Regions from separate parts of the Homo sapiens genome. Here regions 1, 2, 3 and 5 are each linked to region 4. Evidence: promoter capture Hi-C in 16 types of primary human blood cells and fetal thymus (Javierre and others, 2016). All regions are on one chromosome and are shown on one strand. The core of a region is centred on a gene start or on the middle of the fragment in contact, and the rest is flanking DNA. Distances in the headings are between cores, read along the strand shown.

Region 1 (2,700 bases), core at 171-2,670, 310 kb after region 4:
TTTTCCCAAGTGTTTATTAATTCATTTCACTTTTTTTTCCTATGAATTGCCCATTTTTATCTGCTGGGACAAATTGGTATCTATCAATCAATTTTCTTTTTGATTTGTAGGCACTCTTTATATGTCAGAGATGTTAACCTTTTATAAAAAATTCAAATACTTTTATTAGTTGTTTTCTTTTTTTTTTTTTATGTAGTCTCACTCTGTTACTCAGGCTGGAGTGCAGTGGTGCCATCTTGGCTCACTGCAACCTCCACCTTCCAGGTTCAAGTGATTCGCCTGCCTCAGCCTCCCAAGTAGCTGGGATTACAGGCGCCCACCACAACACCTGGCTAATTTTTGTATTTTTAGTAGAGACAGGGTTTCGTCATGTTGGCCAGGCTGGTCTTGAACTCCTGATCTCAGGTGATCCACCCACCTCGGCCTCCCAAAGTGCTGGGATTACAGATGTGAAACACCGCACCTGGCCTTAGTTGCTTTCTAATGCTACTTTTTAGCATACCAAAGAAAGATTTTTATTTTTAGATAGTCAAACCTATTTTTTTAATGTCATGATTTCCTTTATTTTATAGTTATACAATCTTCCCTTCACCAAAGATTAGATAAATATTTGCTATCTTCTTCTAGTTGTGTTTGTTTTTGCTCTCTTCTTAAATCTAGTTGGAATTTAATTTGGTGTCTAGTGTGAGGTAAGGACCTAAATTGATTTGCTTTTCAAATAACTACTCTTCCAACACTATGCATAAGATAATTTCCTCCTTACCCATTGACTCACGATTAAAAACAGGTCTGTTTCTGGCTATATTTTCACTTCATCTATTTGTCTGCTTCTTGCATTGATACCATTCTATTTTACTTTCTGTGTATTTGTCTTAAATCTGAAAAGGCATTTTTCTCTATTTCTCTTTAAAAAATATTTGATTTCTCATTTGTTTTTTTAAAAGCTTTATGAGATGAATTCTTCGTGTTCTAAAAGAATCACCTTTGATATTTTGATTAAAACTTTAAACCACTACCTAATGATCAGCTTTTTGACAAAGACTATCTTTTAGTGTGATTGTAGTTTTCTGAGGTTAGCAAATATTACCACAAAAATTGTAGAGAACAATAGTTCCTTCATCTTCTAAGAAACATGGGGTGCTTTTATTGTCATCATCTGTGTGAAATTTCAAAGACTCTTGTGAGAAGGATTGGGCAAAGATATTTTCCCTATTTTTCAGGTGAGAAGGTTGAAGCACAGGTTATTATACAACTAATCCGAGACAGACTGGAATACATTATTAGATCTCTTGATTTTGCTACTTACAAATTGCCTGGCACATATATTATTCCTTTCTGTTTGGAGATCTCTTGATTTTGCTACTTACAAATTGCCTGGCACATATATTATTCCTTTCTGTTTGGTGATCTTACTTCCCTTCAAGGCAAAACTAACTAGGCAAAATCAAATGAACAAGAAACTGGCAGTAAGGCCTAAAGAATTATAGCTATATGTTTTCTGTTTTTCTAGATAGATATAGGTTATAGCATCCTTTGAGAGCACTAATAGAACTGCACATGAATATTTATTTTCTTAGTTTAGAGTTCAAGGGAGCAAGAAGTAGTATTGGTCATAGAACTTTGACAATTTTGAATAAGTAGGATTTTCATATTTGCAAACAATACCAGATACCTAGTTAAATTTGAGTTCCAGATAAGCAACACATAGTTTTTTTAGTATATGTATGCTCCAATATTTATACTAAAAAACTATTTGCTGTGCATCTGAAATTCAATTTCACTGACCATTTTGTATTTTATCTAGAAACCCTACAGATGAGGCAAATCTATATTTTGTATGCCAGATGGTTCTTTCATCACCTATAAGCCTGCCCTAAACAGGAGCGACAAAAGCCCAAAGCTTTGCACCAGAGCATTTAAAATCAAATATACATACGTATATATGTATATATATACGTATATATATACGTATATATGTATATATATACGTATATATATGTATATACATGTATACATATATATGTGTGTATATACATATATACGTATATATATGTGTGTGTATATAGATACGTATATATATGTGTATATATATATTTTTAAACTTCACTTTCTTTTGGTATTAAACTTGCTCTGCCTGGAATGATTGATAGAAATAATAGCAAACATTATTGCTGATTAAACTGTTAAACATTTGAATCGATGAAGATAATCTGATAAAAGATTTTAAAATATCAAGCTGTTCTGTATCAGCCTTTAAAAGCTACATTTTTCTCCTTAATCATAACCTGAAAGGAGGTTATGATTAAAGAAAAAAAAAAACATTGTGGAAGATGGTCTCCAGGTGTGATAGAGGTTATGCTCTTAGGAAAAATGGGAGCCAAAAATTAATATCTTTAAATGTCCATCCAGTGGATTCCAAGATCTCATACACCAAGATCTCATACAGTTCTCTGATCTTTAGTTTCATCTATCAGATGCCCACTCATTAGCTTCACTGGCCTATTTTAATAGGCAACTCAAATTTAACATGCCCAAACGGAACTCCTTCTGAACCCACACCATCTCCTCTTTCATTCTTTCCCAACTCAGCAGCACCTCTGGTTATGCATTTGTTCAAGCCCAAAACCCAGGAGTCATCCTTGACTCCGTTATCCCACACCCCTCCACTTCCCATCCAACAGTCAGCAGTCCTGTTAACTC
Region 2 (2,700 bases), core at 114-2,613, 290 kb after region 4:
TTAAAGTGAACAAAAAATAATTTAAATTTACTACACTGTCAAAATACTAGATTCTTTTTGCTTTATTTGATAATATTGATAGCAATTAAAACAGCCAAAATACTAGATTCTTTTTGCGTTATTTGATAATACTGGTAGAAATTAATTAGGTATAAGTGTATTTTTTCTAATTGCTATTTTACTGAAAGCATATATATGTATGTGTGTGTGTGTGTGTGTGTACACATGTATATATATATATATGGCAAATGAAATCTTAAATCCAGAATGGGGTAGTCTTAAAATAGCGCAAAAGACAAAAACTTTTAAAATGTTAAACAGAAGTACAGTTGAACTTTGAGTAATGAGTGCAGGGGTTAGGAGTGCCATCCCCTGCTTGCCTGCAACAGTTGAAAATCAGTGTGTAACTTTGGACTCCCCCAAAACTTAACTACTGATAGCCTATTGTTGACTGGAAGCCTTACCTATAACATAAACAGCTGATTAATACATATTTTGTATGTTACATATAGTATGTACTGTATTTTTACTATAAAGAGAAAAAAATGTTAAAGTCATAGGGAAAATATATTTACTATTCCTGAAATAGAAGCGGATCATCATAAAGATCTTCTTCTTCATTGTCCTCACTTTGTGCAGGCTGAGGAGAAGGAGGAAGAGAAGGGGTTGGTCTTGTTGTCCCAGGTGGCGGAGGTGGAAGAAACTTCTGTGTATGCGTGGACCCACGTACTTCAAACCTGTGTAGTTCATGGGTCAACTGTATACTCTAAAACTGCTATTTAAAATTTAAAAATCAAGTTGTGACCATAAAGTATTCTCTTTTGGGAACTGAGTGAATGAATTCTGAATCTGGCAGTGGAAATGAATATGATGCATTGCATTACGTGGCTTCAGCACTAAATAATTTTTCCCACTTTTCCCTTCCGCACAGATCGAAAGCTGCTTTGCGTCGCAGTTGGAGCAGCACCCCCACCGCAGGTGGCATTGAAGGGAGCGTGAAGCTGCACGAGGGGTCTCAGGTCCTGCTCACGAGCTCCAATGAGATGGGTACTGTTAGGTATGTGGGCCCCACTGACTTTGCTTCAGGTATCTGGCTTGGACTTGAGCTCCGAAGCGCCAAGGGAAAAAATGATGGGTCAGTGGGTGACAAGCGCTATTTCACCTGTAAGCCGAACCATGGAGTCTTAGTTCGACCGAGCAGAGTGACCTATCGGGGAATTAATGGGTCAAAACTTGTGGATGAGAATTGTTAAGCTTCTAAAATATTAAATAAGCTCAAATATATATATTTGGTGTAAATAAAGAGTCCATGGTAAATGGTTTACTTTATTTAGCCATATTAAAATTTTGAAAATATAGTTATCTTCTTAAAAACCATTATAACAATTCAGAGAGAGTTCTTTACAAAGCCATGAATATGAACTATGGGGAATCATGGTTCTTTTAAAGCAATTTTCAAAATAAGTACCAATTAAAGCTTTAGGTTCCAAGAAGATTCTGGGACTCAGGAAGAAAAAGTGCCATCAGGTGACCAGCTGTTGCATTTCTTGCTTATTCTGTTTTGTTTTTGCACATCATAATGGATTTTTCTTAGTGCCCTAATTGTGAAGGGTTTCTCTAGCTTTGGTTATGTGTAATGTTCACGTGACCTTTTTTTGTCAATCATTTTTGGAATTTTTCTTTCTTTCTGTGCTTTATTACTAATAAGTCCAATGAGTGAGTAGTAGCTAGATGACTAGTATGTAGTTTTATATTTTGGTAAAATTATTTGCCCTTTCAGAAATGCCTCATCTAAAGATACATGATAATTTTGGAGTTGGAAGGGGCCTTAGAGGCTCTCCAGCTCTGCTTCTTGCCCATTGCCAAATACTGAAATGGAAGCCCGTCTTACCTGGGGTCACTAACTGGTTGGTTAACTGAGCTAAGAATAGACTGTGGGTCTCCTCACTTGTGGCCCAGTGCTCTTTCTGCTATACAAAATGTCTAATCTCAGATTTTTCTTCTGCTGCTTGACTGCTTCATCTGGATGAACTACAAAAAACCCATGATTAAGGTTTATGAATTCAAGTAATAATTAGATTTTTTTTGCACAGACTTACTTAACTTCCTTATTGGATATGTTTGTAACACATAAACACAAAGCACTTTTCAAACATGATGCACTTTTATCTTTGTGAATAATTTACTGTCCTTTCCTCCTGGGATATGAGAAACATTTTAAAAAACGTATTTAACAGAAGAGAGCAAATAAAGATATATCAGGAAGGATGTATTAGTTATTTACTTAAATGTTTATAATATCTGGATTTTTTTTGTTTTGTTACTCATAGAACTGGTGTTGTTTGCTGTTTTTATTTCTCTAATTGTTGCAGAGTTCTGCCTGTTACAAAGCTACAGAACTGTATTGTTTTTATTTTCCTTCTTGAGCACATGTTAACAAACTAAGCTTCACATTAGAGTGATGTCATAATGTAAAATGTTTGCATTGTGGTTAGGTATTGAAGTTTATGTCCTGTCTGTGTAAAGATTCATCTTTTATTGTAAATATTTAGACTTTACCACAGAAATATTGGAACAGTTTGCTTTATAAGATTAAAAAGCATCCTTCAGAATGGAGCTTGCCTTGTGCTTAGAAATAATATGTTGAACTATTTTGCAATATACTATTTTAAATCTAAATTCTGTCACTTCGCTGCCTTT
Region 3 (2,700 bases), core at 166-2,665, 310 kb before region 4:
GGTTCCTCGGGCATTTGTGAACCTGGTGACGGTGCTTGAGATCGTCAACCTGAGGGAGCTGTACCAGGAGAAAAAAGTCTACTGCCCAAGGATGATCCTCAGGTCAGACAGATACTTCTCCCCGATTCTACTAAGAATCCTCACTGCTAAGGGCAGTGGCACCCTTAGCAAATTCCTTAGAAAACCCAAGGGCCGAAGTGTGAAAGGGCTGTGACCACCCCATCTTCTAACCTGGAAAAGCCTAAGGGGAGGATATCCTAGGATTTTTCCACCCTGGTGTAGGCCTCAGCCCACCTCAGGGTGTGCATGGGGAACTACCCCTGCACCCCGCCTCTGTTGCCATGGCAGCCACAAGGCACCCTCCAGGCCTCCAGAGGGAAGAGTAAAACGCTAGGAATGGAGTCAAGCTGTGTGTCTGAGGCCCGGGGACCGCCCAGGCCACTGCTGGGACCTACTTCCAAGTGTGTCCAGAGCTGATCTGCCCCCTCCTAGAGGCCCATCTCTAGGACAGGGGTGCCTCTGGTTGGTATGGGTGTTCCATGTAAAGCATTCACAGATATAGGGCCACTGTCACCTGCCAGAGAAGGAGGTCAAACCAGAATTAGCAGGGTCCAGAGGACAGAGTCCTCCCCAGAGAGTAGAGAACCCTGGTCCTGAGAAGGTGCCTGAGAGGACGTCTTCACCCCTCAGCCTCCAGAGCCAGACAGAGCTGGCTTCCCCTTCTAATACAGGCTGAGCATCCCTCATCCGAAAATCTGAAATCTGAAATGCTCCAAAATCCAAAACTTTTTTTTTTTTTTGAGACAGGGTCTCGCTCTGTTGCCTAGGCTGGAGTGCAGTGGCATGATCTTGGCTCACTGCAGTCTCCGCCTCCCAGGTTCAAGCAATTCTCCCACCTCAGCCTCCTTAGTAGCTGGGATTACAGGCACACCACCATGCCCAGCTAATTTTTGTATTTTTAGTAGAGACGGAGTTTTATCATGTTGGCCAAGCTGGTCCCGAACTGCTGACCTCAGGTGATCCACCCTCCTCGGCCTCCCAAAGTGCTGGGATTACAGGCGTGAAGCCACCATGCCTGGCCCCGAATCCAAAACTTTTAAAGTGCTGACATGACACCACAAGGGGAAAATTCCACACCTGACTTCATGTGACAGGTTGTAGTGAAAACACAGGTGCACAGCACGCAGTTTATTCAGCATCCCCAAAAAGCCTCCTTCAGCTGCGATGCACTCTCTTTTCTGGGCATGCCCAGATCCTGCGGCTCAAGCATGCCCACAAAGGGTAGCAAAATGGCACATGTGCAGGCCGGATGCTCCAACAACAGGTTCCCCATAATGGCTCATGTGGGGCTAAGACCTGCGTGCATTACTCACCTAGTTTTTGCTCATTCTCTGTGTGGTAAAGATGTGGCTTAAAACGATAGCCATAGGGTAATGCAAATATTCCAAAAAAAAAAAAATCTGAAATCTGAAATGCTTCTGGCTCAAAGCATTTCAGATAAGGGAGACCCAGCCTGTATCACACATCTCCAGGACCGTCAGGAATAAGACGTTCCTCTAAGTGAAGCATGAACGTTTTCCGCAGCCTTCCTTCCTGCAGGTTTTCCTCTGGACTGTTAGCCAAGGTCACTGAGACTGTGCTCCCCTACCCTGCCCCCCAGCTCTGTTACTCGGTACAGGTCCCCACCCCAGCCCTGAGCACATCACATGGTAATTACTCATGTGCCTCCCTCCCCCACAGCCTGTGAACTCAGCCTGAGTCACTGCTAGCATGGTGTAGGGGCTCAGCTGCTGTTTGCTGAATGACTGAATAATTCACAAGGGCCAGACTTGCTCTTGGAAGTTAAGGGGTACCTTTCCTGCTCCTCTGCAGATCCATGCCATGCCTCACCTGGGGGACCCAAACCGCACAGGTCCCCTGGAGAAGGCCTCACGGTGCTGTGAGCAGAGACAGGATGGTTGCTTGGGTGACATGTTCCTATGAACGCAGCTGGTGTCAGGCATGCTATTTCCAACTGCTGACTCATCCGCTGGCTCACACTTTCTCCAGTCACTGGGCCACACAGGGGATCGGTGTCTTCACTCCATTTCAGAGCAGTTTACCAGAAAGCCTCTTGCTACCCATCTTGGCAGGGTTTTTTAGACCATTCAAACTCAAGGTTCAAAATAGGCATTTGCCAGGCCCATTCACAGATCTGAGATGGCCAAGTCACTGAATGTCAAGGTTGGATAGACTCAGGTCACCTTCTCCTGCCACCTCTGCAGTGCCCTGCACTCCCCGCCTCTCCACTGTTTCATCGGGTGGCTGTGCTTTCCTCTGCAGTGCTGAGTCTACACGGAGCCATCCCTGCTGTTATCACCTCATCCCCCTGGACCAAAAGCCCAGATGTGCCAGATAGCTGGCCGGGTCAGAGCTGCAGATTGGATGGAAGCAGTTTAACATAGAGATTAAGAGCTCAGGTTCAGAGCCAGGCAGACTTGAGTTCAAGTCCTAGCTCCCACACTCAGCACCCATGCAACCTTGAGAAAGTTACTCAACCACCCTGAGCCTGGGTTTCCTCATCTCTAAAACAGGGATAATGAGAATACCACTTCTAGAATGGCTGGGAGGACTAAACAGGTTAATACCCATAAAGTTTTTATTGCAGTGCTTGGTACAGTGTTCAATGTTAATTATTCAATAATAATTGCTAAGATACAC
Region 4 (2,700 bases), core at 201-2,700:
TCAGCCTCCAGACTATGGGCGTGTGCCTAAAAATGTCTATTTGATGTAGCAACATGAGATAAATCTGGAGAAACAGGAGGGAATAGTTGTTCCGATCATTACTTTTACATTATTATAACTGAATACATTGTTATTTTGTAAATGATTACAGCCTGGAATTGAATAGGGGGAAACGGAAGCAGTTGTTACAATCATTATCAATTTGAAAGTGAAGACTTCTTTTCTCTCTCTTTTTTTTTGAGACAGTCTCGCTCTGTCACCTAGACTGGAGTGCAGTGGCGTGGCGATTTCGGCTCACTGCAACCTCCACCTCCCGGGTTCAAGGAGTCTCCTGCCTCAGTCTCCCGAGTAGCTGGGACTACAGGCACACACCACCACACCCGGCTAATTTTAGTATTTTTAGTAGAGACAAGGTTTCGCCATTTTGCCTAGCTTGGTCTCGAACTCTGACCTCGGGCGATCTGCCCGCCTCGGCCTCCCAAAGTGGGATTATAGGTGTAAGCCACCGCGCTCGGCTGAAGATTTCCTTCAAACCTTTCGTTCTACCTTATCATTTTCTTTAAAGTTTTAAAAAATTGTTATTTATTTATTATTTATTTTTTTAAGACGGAGTTTCACTCTTGTTGCCCGGAGTATAATGGCGCGATCTCGGCTCACAGCAACCTCCATCTCCCGAGTTCAAGCGATTCTCCTGCCTCAGCCTCTCGAGTAGCTGGGATTACAGGCGTGCGCCACACGCCTGGCTATTTTTTTTTTTTTTTTTTTTTTTTTTTTTTTTTTGAGACGAGTCTCGCTCTGTCGCCCAGGCTGGAGTGCAGGGGCGCGATCTCGGCTCACTGCAATCTCCGCCTCCCGGGTTCAACCAATTCTCTGCCTCAGCCTCCCGAGTGGCTGGGATTACATACAGGTGCCAACCACCAAGCCCGGCTAATTTTTTTGTATTTTTAGTAGAGACGAGGTTTCATCATCTTGGCCAGGCTGGTCTTGAACTCCTGACCTTATGATCCACCCGCCTCGGCCTCCCAAAGTGCTAGGATTACAGGCGTGAGCCACCGCGCCCAGCCCACGGCTAATTTTTTTATTTTTAGTAGAGACGGGGGTTTCTACATGTTGGTCAGGCTGGTCTCGAACTCCGACCTCAGGGGATCCGCCCACTTCGGCCTCCCAAAGTGCTGTGATTACAGGCGTGAGCCACCGCGCCCGGCCCCCCCCCTTTTTTTTTTTTTTTAAAGGAACAGGACTTGATCTTAATTCTACAATTACTTTCTCCCATACTCCCACTCCCGCCCAGAACAAGATAGCGACAGGCCCTAGCGGGCCACCGTCCACAGGGCGGATCCGCCAGAAGCTCTCCTGCGACGCGAAGATCCACTCCCTGAGCCCCCGGCGCTCCCTCCGCCTCACTTCCTCCTCCAGGCTCCGCCCCGCGCCGGTGCGCCTGCGCACGGACGAACACGTGGCTGCAGCGGGGCCAGAGCAGCAATGGCGGCGGGCGGCGGCGGTAGCTGCGACCCCCTGGCCCCTGCTGGGGTCCCTTGCGCCTTCTCCCCGCACAGCCAGGCCTACTTCGCTTTGGCCTCTACCGACGGTCACTTACGAGTATGGGAGACGGCCAACAACCGGCTGCACCAGGAGTACGTGCCTTCCGCGCACCTCAGTGGTACCTGCACCTGTCTGGCCTGGGCGCCAGCGCGGCTGCAGGCCAAGGTAAAGCGAGCGGGACTGCGCGGGGCGGGCGCCTTCCCGGGCTCGGCTTCGGGCCTCCGGGCCGGGTGGCGCGTGGTCCGGCATCGCGCGTGGCTCTCAGCGGCCCGGGCCAGAAGGCTTGGAGGCGGCGTCGGCGCGTTCAGGGCCCAAGCCGCCAGCCCCGCGTGCGGCCTGCCGCGAGGGCAGTGAGGGAGGGCGCAGCTCGACCCGGCCGGCCTCGTATCCGAGCCCTGCCGGCTGGCCCAATGAGGCCTGGGCCCCACTGTTGACGGGCAGCCATGTTCGCCAAGTCCCCTGGTCCCCCTGGGGCGGCTTCCTTCTGCCGGGCCTTGGCTCATCAGAGTTCTGGTTTTTGACAGAGCCCCATCTTGGGACTATCTAACTTTCCTCTGTCTGTGATCCGGCTCATCAGTTTTGCACTGGGCAGTTGGTATGGACTAGTCTGTACTTGCTTCCGGACCTTCCCCCTCCTGCCCCCCCTTTGGGTGCCGGCTCACCACGTGTTCTCGTCCCCGTCCAGGTTGTGGGACTCTCAACTCTTAACTTTTGCCTTTCCCAGGCACCTCTACATTCTCAGCTTTTTGAACTCACTGCTTTTTGATTTTAACATCTGCTCGCCCCTCCCGCCCCGCTTTCAAGCCGATCACACTGCTCCCCACCCACCCCAATCTGAAGTCTGTATTAGGATGTGGAGGTTAAGTGAAGTAGTAGCTTGATTTAGTGAATGTTTTATGAGTGCAGATGAAATTACCCTTAGATGGAAAACTGCCGAGTTAGGCAGAGCTTTTCATTGTTAGGGACCCGTGTCAGGTAAATGCCTTTCACTGTTGAGTCACTCAGCTACATCTCTCTAACTCAGCATGCACGTGGTTATTGCGTTTACAGAGTAGCCAAACCGAATCACTGCAAAGTGATTTGGAAACATCAGGTATCCTGAGGTGTGTGATGTGAGCTGTTTCAATGTGGAGAACTGTAAAAGCTATTTAGGATCTT
Region 5 (2,700 bases), core at 26-2,525, 330 kb before region 4:
AGACAATTTATACATACACACAGGAGAAACAACTCTAGTCTTTTTTTTCTTTTTTATTGAAGGAGTCTCACTATATTGCCCAGGCTGGTCTCGAACTTCTGGGCTCAAGTGATCCTCCCAACTTGGCCTCCCTAAGTGCTGGGATTATAGGCATGAGCCATCACACGCAGCCAAATATTTATTTAATTTTTTACAGACAGTCTCACTTTGTTGCCCAGGCTGGAGTGCAGTGGTGCAATCATAGCTCACTGCAGCCTCTGCCTCCTGGGCTTGATTCCAGGTTTTTCAGGTCCAAGCGCAGTACTTGACTGCAGTCAATGGCTTTGATAATCGAGTGTCTCTATCAGTGGTTCTGAAAATGTGGTACCCAGACTGGACTGGCAGCATCAGCATTACCTGGAAACTTGTTGGAAATGCAAATCCTTGGGCCCACCCCAGACCTATTGAGTCAAAAATTCTGAAGGTGGGGCCCAGCCATCTGTGTTTTCACAGGCTCTCCAGGTGATTCCGATGCAGGCTCAATTGGAGGACCGCTGCTCTATATGTTTTGCACACATATATTTACAACTATGTATGTGTGAGTTTGTATCCTTTCATAGGAAGAGGCAAGAACTTTTACTTTTCCAATGAGAGCAAATCCTCATTGGGAGTGGCTCTCCCCATTGCAGACAGCATGAAAGAAGGTAGACAAGATGTCTCCATGAAAGGAGACGAGACCTTGGAGACCTGGAAGTCCCTTGAGTATGTTTTCCACTCAATGTTAATCCGGCTTCCTGCACAGGTACAATTCCACAGCCATGATTTGGATGTTGATGGGTGCTGTGGGTTGTATATAGTCCAGCTGTGTCAAAATCATCTCACCCTGTGTTTCACTGCAGGCCTGAAAGCTTTTTTTTTTTTTTTTTTTTTTTTTTTTTGAGACGGAGTCTCGCTCTATCTCCCAGGCTGGATTGCAGTGGCGCAATCTCGGCTCACTGCAGCCTCCTCCTCCCAGGTTCAAGCAATTCTCATGCCTCAGCCTCCCAAATAGCTGGGACTATAAGAGCACACCTCCATGCCTGGCTAATTTTTGTATTTTTAGTAGAGACGGGGTTTCATCATTTTGGACAGGCTGGTCTGAAACTCCTGACCTCAGGTGATCTGCCCGTGTCGGCCTCCCAAAGTGCTGGGATTGTAATCTGGTCACGCTACAGGCTTTATAAACTGTCTTTGGCAAAGAAGGCTGTTGAGAAAGCCTCCTGCAGACAACTTTCAGTTTATCCTTCTTAAGCACTTAACCACTGAAATGTACCAGGGTGGGCCACTCCTTGGTACAAACTCTGTACTAGGCTTCTTCCAAACCACAAGAGCTATTTCAATAATTTAGTGCAGCGTTGTGCCACTAGACACAATAGAAGCACATCGGCAAAGGTAGAGCTATGGCCAAGTCAGGGTGACCTTGGGGGTGAGGTAATTGGGGGAGTGGGAGGTGAGCTTGTGACTTGAGAGACCAAGCTATATATGGCTTAAGAAATTCTAGGGGTGGTCCCCCAAATACACTAGGATTCACTTTCTTATGTGTATAAGGTAAAGGGGTAGGTAGATGTAGTACCTGTGTGTGTATGTGAGTAATTACATATATAGCAATATCTATGTTAAACTCCTAACTTGTTAGCCAGGCATAAAAGCTTATAATCCCAGCTACTCAGGAGGCTGAGGTGGGAGGATCGCTTGAGCCCAGGAGGCCGAGGCTGCAGTGAGCCATGATCACACGCCACAGCCTAGGTGACAGAGTGAGACCTTGTCTCGAAAAATAAAAATAAAACGAATATATTGATAGATGCTACAACATAATTGAACCTTGAAAACATTATGCAAAGTAGAAGAAGCCAGACACAAAGAGTCACGTATTATATTATTCTATTTACATGAAATATCCAGAATAGATAAATCTATAGAGGCAGAAAGCAGATTACTGGTTACCAGATATTGGTTAGGCCCTGTGGCCCTAACCTACCTTTCCAAGGTGGTTTTCTCTTTGCTCTCTCATATATGCTTCATGCAAGCCAAACTGTGACTAGCTGGGCTTTCGAGACATCCAAGCTCGACCCTACCACATCCATCCATCACGCTTTTCCCTCCATCACCCGATCTCGCTCTCCCTCATCCTCCTGTTATTCCTGAGGCTTAATTCAAATGCGACCTTCTCCATGAAGCCTGCTGTGACCCCCTCCTCAGGCCCCCCAGGGGAAGATCATCCCTCCAGCTCTATAGCTTCACATCACTTCACACCTCTTTTAGTGTTTATCGGTCTTACACTATAATAACTATGGCTATTTCTCATTTTCTCCTTAGCTTGTGAGCTTTTTGAGGGCATTCTCTGTTTCTGATCACTGTGTGGTCTCCAAAGCACCCAGCCACTGCTTCGTGTTCAACATGTTTGTCCTGTGAGTTAATAGCTGCCACATCACACGGAATGCTCAAACTCAAAAGATAAAAATATGTATAGTCAAGCTGTGGAAAACAGCTTGATGCTTCCTCAAAAAGATAAGCATAGGATTACCATATAATCCACCAATTCCACTCTCAGGTGTATACCAAAATAATTGAAAACAGGCATTCAAACAAACACTCGTACACAGATATTTATAGCAATACTAGTCACAATAGCCCAAAAGTGGAAATAACCCAAATGCCTATCGATGCATGAATGGATAAACA

What was found. Contacts are between HindIII fragments. The CHiCAGO score rates a contact against its expected background, and 5 or more counts as called.
Region 1: a fragment that was not itself captured here is called in contact with the fragment with the promoter of WDR43 in region 4 in 1 of 17 cell types (naive CD8 T cells); the score reaches 5.3 in naive CD8 T cells.
Region 2: a fragment that was not itself captured here is called in contact with the fragment with the promoter of WDR43 in region 4 in 1 of 17 cell types (total CD8 T cells); the score reaches 5.1 in total CD8 T cells.
Region 3: a fragment that was not itself captured here is called in contact with the fragment with the promoter of WDR43 in region 4 in 2 of 17 cell types (naive CD4 T cells and activated CD4 T cells); the score reaches 5.4 in naive CD4 T cells.
Region 5: a fragment that was not itself captured here is called in contact with the fragment with the promoter of WDR43 in region 4 in 1 of 17 cell types (total CD8 T cells); the score reaches 5.5 in total CD8 T cells.

Annotation. Positions count from the first base shown.
Region 1 is chr2:29,198,785-29,201,484 of GRCh38, forward strand. The region is part of intron 26 of ALK (ALK receptor tyrosine kinase); the gene reads right to left. Among named protein-coding and RNA genes, the nearest start is that of CLIP4, 85 kb to the left of the region's middle. The HindIII fragment of the contact is 956 bases long and covers 943-1,898 here.
Region 2 is chr2:29,180,641-29,183,340 of GRCh38, forward strand. It overlaps CLIP4 (CAP-Gly domain containing linker protein family member 4), which reads left to right. Exons shown (of 16, transcript NM_024692.6): 16 at 932-2,700. The coding sequence ends at 1,253. Among named protein-coding and RNA genes, the nearest start is that of CLIP4, 67 kb to the left of the region's middle. The HindIII fragment of the contact is 223 bases long and covers 1,253-1,475 here.
Region 3 is chr2:28,582,404-28,585,103 of GRCh38, forward strand. PLB1 (phospholipase B1) reads left to right here. Exons shown (of 58, transcript NM_153021.5): 25 at 2-102. Among named protein-coding and RNA genes, the nearest start is that of PLB1, 88 kb to the left of the region's middle. RefSeq lists an enhancer at 2,062-2,121. The HindIII fragment of the contact is 5,337 bases long and covers 1-2,700 here.
Region 4 is chr2:28,893,217-28,895,916 of GRCh38, forward strand. WDR43 (WD repeat domain 43) reads left to right here and starts at 1,451. Exons shown (of 18, transcript NM_015131.3): 1 at 1,451-1,707. The coding sequence starts at 1,483. RefSeq lists silencers at 1,435-1,514, 1,655-1,714, 1,755-1,804, 1,825-1,944 and enhancers at 1,595-2,218, 2,045-2,144, 2,219-2,700. The HindIII fragment of the contact is 5,798 bases long and covers 1-2,700 here.
Region 5 is chr2:28,558,853-28,561,552 of GRCh38, forward strand. All of the region lies in intron 17 of PLB1 (phospholipase B1), which reads left to right. Among named protein-coding and RNA genes, the nearest start is that of PLB1, 64 kb to the left of the region's middle. The HindIII fragment of the contact is 780 bases long and covers 886-1,665 here.